2 separate regions of the Homo sapiens genome follow, and region 2 is linked to region 1. The links are contacts of gene promoters, found by promoter capture Hi-C in blood cells and fetal thymus (Javierre and others, 2016). All regions are on one chromosome and are shown on one strand. The core of a region is centred on a gene start or on the middle of the fragment in contact, and the rest is flanking DNA. Distances in the headings are between cores, read along the strand shown. Region 1 holds the start of SNUPN (snurportin 1). Region 2 overlaps MAN2C1 (mannosidase alpha class 2C member 1).

Region 1 (4,209 bases), core at 487-2,986:
GGGATCTCGGCTCACTGCAAGCTCCGCCTCCCGGGTTCACGCCATTCTCCTGCCTCAGCCTCCCAAGTAGCTGGGACTACAGGCGCCCGCCACTACGCCCGGCTAATTTTTTGTATTTTCAGTAGAGACGGGGTTTCACCGTTTTAGCCGGGATGGTCTCGATCTCCTGACCTCGTGATCCGCCCGCCTCGGCCTCCCAAAGTGCTGGGATTACAGGCGTGAGCCACCGCGCCCGGCCGATAAAAATTTTTAAAAAGTCATTATGTTTTCAGTTCATCACCAAAGTAATGACCAAATCCAAAGCACCTTTATTAGGCCTATCATGCACTATCTTGGTGTGGGCTCCCGCTCTGCCAAGAACCACACAACCTTTGAAACTGATGTCCTGGGCCTGGCGCGGTGGCTCACGCCTGTAATCCCAGCACTTTGGGAGGTTGAAGCGGGCAGATCACCTGAGGTTAGGAGATCGAGACCATCCTGGCTAACACAGTGAAACCCCGTCTCTACTAAAAAAAAAAAAAAAAATACAAAAAAATTAGCCAGGCATGGTGACGGGCGCCTGTAGTCCCAGATGCTCGGGAGGCTGAGGCAGGAGAATGGCTTGAACCCGTAAGGCGGAGCTTGCAGTGAGTCGAGATCGTGCCACTGCACTCCAGCCTGGACTTCGTCTCAAAAAGAAAAAAAAAAGAAAAACTGATGTCCTGGATACTGGGGCGGTTCCTTTACCTTCCTTCAAGGCTGTTCTTGGCGGGTTCCTGCTGTTTCGTTTTGTTTTTTCTTTGTTGTTGTTGTTTTTTTTTTGAGACAGAGTTTCGCTCTTGTTGCCCAGGCTGGAGTGCAGTGGCATGATCTCGGCTCACTGCAACCTCCATCTCCCGGATTCAAGCGATTCTCCTGCCTCAGCCTCCCGAGTAGCTGGGATTACAGGCACGCGCCACAACGCCCGGCTAATTTTTTTTGTATTTTTAGTACAGATGGGGTTTCACCATGTTGGTCAGGCTGGTCTCAAACTCCTGACCTCAGGTGATCCGCCCACCTCGGCCTCCCAAAGTGCTGGGATTACAGGCGTGAGCCACTGCGCCCCGCCGGGCTCCTGCTGTTTCAACCCATTCCTTGGATGGTGCTGCCTCCAAGTGTTCGGACCTTAGCCCCAGGTGGTCTTAGCACCAGTAACCCCCGCTCCAACTCCCTAAAGTCCGACCCGCCCCAGGCCCCGCCCACGCTCCACCCTCCCTCCCTGTCTAGCCCCCTCCCCCATCCCCTTCCCCCTCCTTCGCGTCTCCCCATCCGGCGCCCCCGCCTCGCGTCCCCTGGGTCCGCATCCTGGCAGCCTCCGCGTTTCCCTACCCCTGCTACCGGGCTCCAGCCCCGGGGACGCTATCTGCTTCACTCGGCCGTGCGCGCCGCCACCGCCCCGCACTGCCTTTTTCTAGGCATGGGGTCATCTAGGCCATGCATGATTCGCCCCTGCCCCACAGAAGTCCCTGAGGGGTCCTGGCCGGACAGCACGGAATAGAAGAACGGAAACTCTCCCAAAAGGAGTCCCAGGCCTGGCTCTATCCCTCCAGATGACGTCCCAGGAGGCCAGAGTGCAGGGCCGGCCAGAGGGAGTCACAGTCCGGCACCGAGAGGCAACTCGGCAGCTGGCGGGGCCCGGGCTCGAACCCAGGGACTCACCCAAACCGAGGTGACCGTCGCACGCGCCGCCGCCACCGGGGCCGACGAATCACCTGCCCTGGGAAGCTAGGTCCGCCCTCCCCCCGCCCCCAGCTGCTGCCTCACCGCTGGGCCCACAGGCCTCGCGCCCTGAGTTTCCGGCTCCTCCCTCCTTTGCGAACGCTGGGAGTTCCGTTGCCTACAGGCCGTTATTTCCGCCTTCAACGGCTGGGGCATTTCCCATCGGCTAGGGAGGGGGTCTTCTTGCATTTGCTTTGCACTGTCCGGGACTCTTCCTGCTAGATGACTTGACCAGGCCGAGGCCTCCCTCCTGAACACAAGCTCTTCGGGGCTCCTTTCGCCAATGGGAGGAGGCTGATCTTGTGGCCGGGCATTCAACGCCCTGGGCCCTGCCGCCTCCCGCAGATCTTCCCGGGCCTTAGGGCTTCACCTGGAGTCCCCTTCCCCTCTTGGGCCCGTGCTCTTAAACGGGCAGTGCCAATTGCCTGGATTACTCCAACTAACCCCTCACACCCAAGTTTCAGACACAGACCTTCGCTCCCCCACTTGCCCTTAACAAAAGCAGATACATACCTCGATTACTGCCTGTTTGCTGCTTTTGCGAGCTTCTTTCCCACTCGGCTGCGGGCTGAGCAATGGTAGGGACCTGGCTTGATTCCTATTTAAGTAGCCAGAGTCCAGCACAAGGGATGGCGCTCAGTAGACCCTGCGTGAAGGAATGATTAAATTGGTGCAAAAGACTAGGGTAAGCGGCAGAGATTTAGGAGATTAAGTCCTGCCAGGGTGTAGCCTCTGCAGGGCGGGAAGGCTGAGATTACAATTTTAAAACTGAATATTTATTGAATGCTTACATTCAGCCAATCCCTGCTTCACACCCATCATCTCATTTAATTTTTTTCCTTTTTTTTCTTTTTTAAGCCAGTAGATATTAACTCTTAATCATGACATGAGGAAGTAGACACACTGAAGCTCAGAGAGGTTAAGTAATTTGGCCAAAGTAACACAGCTTTCAAGGAAAATGTTTGAATTTGCTGAAAGTTTGATGTATAGGGAAGTTGACTACCGATGTATGACAGAAGCAAAGTATCCACCTTTGGCACATTTTGCGTCCACGGAATGCTAAAATTTGGACTTGTGTATTTTATGCACATTACACCATACATTCAGACTAAAAAGAATAGGAAATTAGGCTGATGAAAGGCTATTACTAGACTGGTAAAAAGGGTTCTGGGGCCCTGGAAGGCCAATTTTTCTGGACGTGAGATTTTTTTTTATTTTTTTGAGATGGAGTCTCGCTCTGTCGCCCAGGCTCTGGAGTGCAGTGGCGCAATCTCCGCTCACTGCAAGCTCCGCCTCCCGGGTTCACGCCATTCTCCTGCCTCAGCCTACTGAGTAGCTGGGACTACAGGCGCCTGCCACCATGCCCGGCTAATTTTTTTGTATTTTTAGTAGAGACGGGGTTTCACTGTGTTAGCCAGGATGGTCTCGATCTCCTGACCTCATGATCTGCCCGCCTCGGCCTCCCAAAGTGCTGGGATTAAAGGCGTGAGCCACCGCACCCGGCCTGGACCTGAGATTTTATTTAGGTGGCTCTTTCAGTGGCCAGGCTGAGCAAAGCTGTCCACTAGGGTATTTATTTGGTGCATCCACAAATAAAAGCTCATGTCTGCCTGATTTATGAGACTGACAAAAAAGAGAAGTCCAGGGCCTGACTTCACTAGGGAATTTTGACACCCAGGATATTAGGTATTTTGTGTCCAAACAACCATCCCTTACAACCACGGAGGTCACATCTAATGGTCGGGCTGCATAGAAAAGAATAAAGACCTTAAACATTTTAGGAAAATAGACTGAGACTGAGAAAGAAGTTCCCAAATTCATGCCTGGAGGTCCAGGAGAAATGTTCTAGTTCCTCACTCACACCTAGCTGAATAACTTCCCATATCACTGAAAAAACAAAACAAAACCAGGTCAGGCACTGTGGCTCATGCCTGTAATCCCACCACTTTGAGAGGCCAAGGTGGAAGTAGCCCATGAGTTTGAGACCAGCCTGGGCAACATGACAAAAACCCATCTCCACAAAAAAAAAATTAGCTAGGTGTAGTGGTATGAGTCATGATCCCAACTACTTGGAAGGCTGAGGTGGGAGGATCACTTGAGCCCAGGAAGTCATGGCTGCAGTGAGCTGTGATCCTGCCACTGCACTCAGCCTGGAGACTCTGTCTCAAAACAAACAAAAACCAGAGCACCTGGCCCAGGGGTTCATTTAGAGCCAGTGGGTGTTTCAGAAGGGGCTACCTCTGGAATCTCAGCTTCAGAATGTTGGCCACATGCACACACTGTGCTTTATGTCTTTAAATCAATTAATTTAAGAAAAAAGCCTGACTACATTTATTTAAAAGGGCAACATTGGCCAGGTGTGGTGGCTCATGCCTGTAATCCTAGCACTTTGGGAGGCCAAGGCGGGCAGATCACAAGGTCAAGAGATCCAGACCATCCTGGCCAACATGGTGAAACCCCATCTCTACTAAA
Region 2 (3,757 bases), core at 175-2,674, 270 kb before region 1:
CGACTGTTGGGGCTGATCTGTAGCAAGAACCAGGCGCTGCCCCGCAGGCCGCCCTCGGTGCCCACTGCCAGGGTCCCTGCCTGGCCCAGCACAGGCTTCCTATGGGACAGGGGTGGACATACTGATCCAGAGCAGCCTGTGTTCCCACCACCTCCACCATCCCCACATGCTGCCCAGCCTATACCGTGTCTCCAGGTGGTAGTCCATGACGTCCCATGCATCCCAGTACAAGGGGACATCATCAAATAGCACAAACTGGTTCCCCACGGCGCCCTCAGCAATGGCCTCCCTGGAAGGACATGGGATTGGTGCTGTACAACCAACTGACCTCGCTGTCTCCAGCTGCTCTTGGTGGGGTAGGGTGGAGTGAGTAGACCCAGTGGACAGGGGACTACTGCCCAGCCTGCCCTGCTCCATGTGTGGGTTCCAGCCCAGAGCCACTGGTGGGCTGCTGTGGGCAGTGTTGTGGCAAGGGGAGAGAGGAAATGGCCTGGGGTCTACTTGCCAGGCACTGGGAAAGGGCAATGAGGATTTGGCACCTGCCAGAGGCCACCAGGACCAAGGACGTCAGGCGACCAGTTGGGTCCAGCTTCACTCGGATGATGCCATTGTCCAGAGTCACGGAGCCATCAGTCTTTGTGGGAGGAGGCCTTGAGGCTGAGTCTGTAGGGGCTTCCCACACCAAAAGTCTTCCCACCCCAACCCCAGCCCCGCCTCACCACTTGCTCCAGACAGGGGAGCTCAGGACCCTCAGTTGTAAGAAAGTATCCCAGCACAGTTCCTGCCCCCCAGGGCATGCAGGACTCACCTCTTGCACTACGAACACAGGCTGCTGGGGCAGCAGGGGCTGCAGTGAGGTGGGGGGAGGAACAGGAGCATAGCCCATGCTGGGCACTGTCACCAGGGCTGGGGGTGAGGCCTGGGCATCAGTGCAGCCTTCCTGACCTTTCAGGAAGCTTGCGCAGGTGGGGATGGGTTGGTGGAAGATGTGCTACTACTCTCCAGTCAGGGGCACCCAGATCCCTCGGGGTATCCCAGGCCTGATCTGTCTGGCCTCCATCCTTCCTGCTGCAGTAGCAACCCTTCCCCTCAGCTCGTACCTAGGCTGTGGGCCCCGCCCGGTTTGGGCAGGGCCATCACTTCGATCCGCTTCCAGGGCAGTGTGTTGACGATGAGGAGGCCCTCAGGACCTGGCTCCCCAGCACACAGGGCTGCGGCTGCAGCGCTGAGCAGTGTATTGCCATGGGAACGGATGTCTGAGGAAAGACTGGCTGGTCATAGGTGGGCAACAGGTCTGGAATGTGCCCATGGGTATCCCACAGGGGACACTCTGGGCTCAGCCCTGGGGTTGGAGAGAGCAGGCAGGACTATTGTGAGCCTAACCTTCATAATGGCACATGGCTTCCTCTGCCACCATCTGGATGCAGCTTCCAGTCACCACATCATGGAACTGGTTCAGAAGAAGGAGCCTGCAGGGGCCAAGGGCAGGGATGGGAAGGCTGGGAGGGGCAGGCACAGAGGTAACTGCAGTGAGCAGTCAGGTGGATGGCAGGGACAGAACTGGGCTGACCTCCAGAGGTGCTGCAGCTGGGCTGCTGGGTATAGGAACTGGGCACTGCGGGCCAGGGCCAGGCTACTGAGCAGCTCCACGTCGTGCAGGATCCGCTCACATTCCCGGTTCCCCTTCTTGATCTGAGCCCAGGATGGGAAGATTAGTCTGGAGCCTGCTTAGCTGTCCCAGGACACCTTCCAAAGCCCTCCCTTGCTCAGAATCCCTGAGGACTCACCAAGGGCCTCGTGGAGAAGGCCTCTGGCGGGTGACCTGCCTTAAATGCCTTCCCTCTTCTCCCCGCAGCCCAAACCCTTCTTTCTTCAGGGGTTTCTGCCTCCTTCAAGCTTTCTTGACCAACCCAGGTCTTGAACTTCTCTCCTCCAAACTTCTCTTCCCCTAGATCTGGCCTGGGCTCTGTCCCCTGCTGCCTTCTCTGACCCTCTGCAGATCAAGGGCACACCCTCCCTGCACAGCCCTGCAACCTCCCCCTGACCTGGGCATGGGTGGTGTATGTGCCATTGTGCAGCTCCAAGAAGAGCTCCCCAACCCACGTGCACAGCTGCTCTGAGTCACTCTCCAGTGCTGAGAAGAGCTGTCTTGGAGAAGATAGCTGCACCCTGAGGAGACCACAAGCCTAGGTCTCCCAGCCTTGGAGACCACATGGCTCACCCTTCTTCCACACCAAAGCAAAGGATCCAGCTCCTACAGAGAGGAGCCACTCCAGAAAGCTCCCCGTTCACAGATGGCCAGCCCTGGACGCCCTAGGAGAGCCTCTCTCTCTGATGGGCTGGAGCCCTTACCAGCTTCAGCTTCTCCCCCACCCACCCCCAGGGTGGAAGTTTGGAGGAACCCGTGGTCTAGGATTGGGACAGGACAAGGTCCAGAGGAGGGGTTGGGCCCAATGTCTGAGGGAAGGCAGGGCTCATGGCAAGGGCCCAGGGTGGGGCTAAAGGAGAGCCAAGGCCTGGCCTGACCTGGGCAGCCCATCCGTATTGCTCAGGCGCTTCAGGCGGTCCAGCATGGTCTGGGTGGGGCCACCACCCCCATCCCCAAAGCCAAAGAGGAAGGCACTGTGGTTGGCCCGCCCCTTGTCCCGGTTGTTGGCCACGGTCTTCAGCACCTAGACAGGTGAGGGCAGGCCAGCATGGATCAGCCTGGAACAAGCCAGCCCTCTCCAGCCTGCCCCTACCCCACCACCCTAGGTGACCCCTCACCTCCTCCACGCTGCCCTGCATCCCATAGGAGTCGCCAGGTGGGAAGTGGACCAGTACACGGGAGCCATCCAGGCCCTCCCAGAAAAATGTATGGTGCTACCAGCAGGGAAACAGAAGCAGGGCAGAGAGGCCAGAGTCAGGGCTGAGGCAGAGCCAGGCCTTCCAGACTTGGTCCTGCCCCTGCCTGCTATGTGACCCTGGCAGAGGCAGAGTGAGGGTTTGGTGGTCTGTCTAGGACCCCACAATAAGGGGGAGAGGCAAATGGGCCAGGCGGGACTGAGGCCCACTCTGACCCTGACCCCCCGGGGGCCTGCTTACTGGGAAGGAGTTCACCAAATTCCAGCTCAATTTCTGGGTGAGAAAGCGCCTGATGCCACAGCCGTGCATGATCTGGGGGAGCTGTGCTGAGTAGCCAAAGGTGTCCGGCAGCCAGAACTGTGGAGAAAGAGGATCCTGGAGTGCAGGAACCAGAGCTCCAGGCGGACTCACCCCAGCCTCAGCCCCTCAGCACTCCAAGTCGAGCGCCAGCCCCACTCGCCCACAGCCTGGTGTAGCAGCTCTCAGCCTACCTCAGAGCACATCTTCCCAAACTCCTGCAGAAAGAAGTTCTGGCCCTGCAAAAACTGCCTCACCATGGCCTCTCCACTGGGCAGGTTCCCATCCTGGCAGTGAAGGAAGTGGGAGGCAGCCCAGGTCAGCGCTGGACGGGGAGCAGGCAGGCGCTCAGGCCAACCCAATCCCTGCAGGAGAAGCCAGGGCTGCTCAAACATGGGAGTTACAGCCAGAACTCAGGAAGGGCCCCTGTCCTTCAGGCCTGACTGTCCATCTGCCTGAGGGGGTGCCCAGGACTAGGCCATGCAACTTGTCACAGCGCTGGAGGCTCTCCTCCCCCTTGAAGTCCCAGGCCTTGAGATCCCAGGGACTAATGAGCCAGCCCTGCCACACAGCGGGGATGAGTGGCCCGTGGAAACTCACCAGCAAAGCCGGGAGG

Evidence for each region. The method cuts DNA at HindIII sites, captures the fragments that hold promoters and counts their contacts. A CHiCAGO score of 5 or more calls a contact.
Region 2: a fragment that was not itself captured here is called in contact with the fragment with the promoter of SNUPN in region 1 in 3 of 17 cell types (erythroblasts, fetal thymus and endothelial precursors); the score reaches 7.0 in erythroblasts.

The regions. Positions count from the first base shown.
Region 1 is chr15:75,623,989-75,628,197 of GRCh38, forward strand. SNUPN (snurportin 1) reads right to left here and starts at 1,737. Exons shown (of 9, transcript NM_005701.4): 1 at 1,678-1,737. RefSeq lists a silencer at 1,216-1,265 and an enhancer at 1,916-2,105. The HindIII fragment of the contact is 10,585 bases long and covers 1-4,209 here.
Region 2 is chr15:75,358,520-75,362,276 of GRCh38, forward strand. MAN2C1 (mannosidase alpha class 2C member 1) reads right to left here. Exons shown (of 26, transcript NM_006715.4): 9 at 3,336-3,428; 10 at 3,085-3,201; 11 at 2,767-2,862; 12 at 2,527-2,672; 13 at 2,046-2,169; 14 at 1,571-1,692; 15 at 1,384-1,469; 16 at 1,101-1,256; 17 at 809-906; 18 at 540-634; 19 at 185-289; 20 at 1-99. Among named protein-coding and RNA genes, the nearest start is that of MIR631, 6.7 kb to the left of the region's middle. The HindIII fragment of the contact is 940 bases long and covers 955-1,894 here.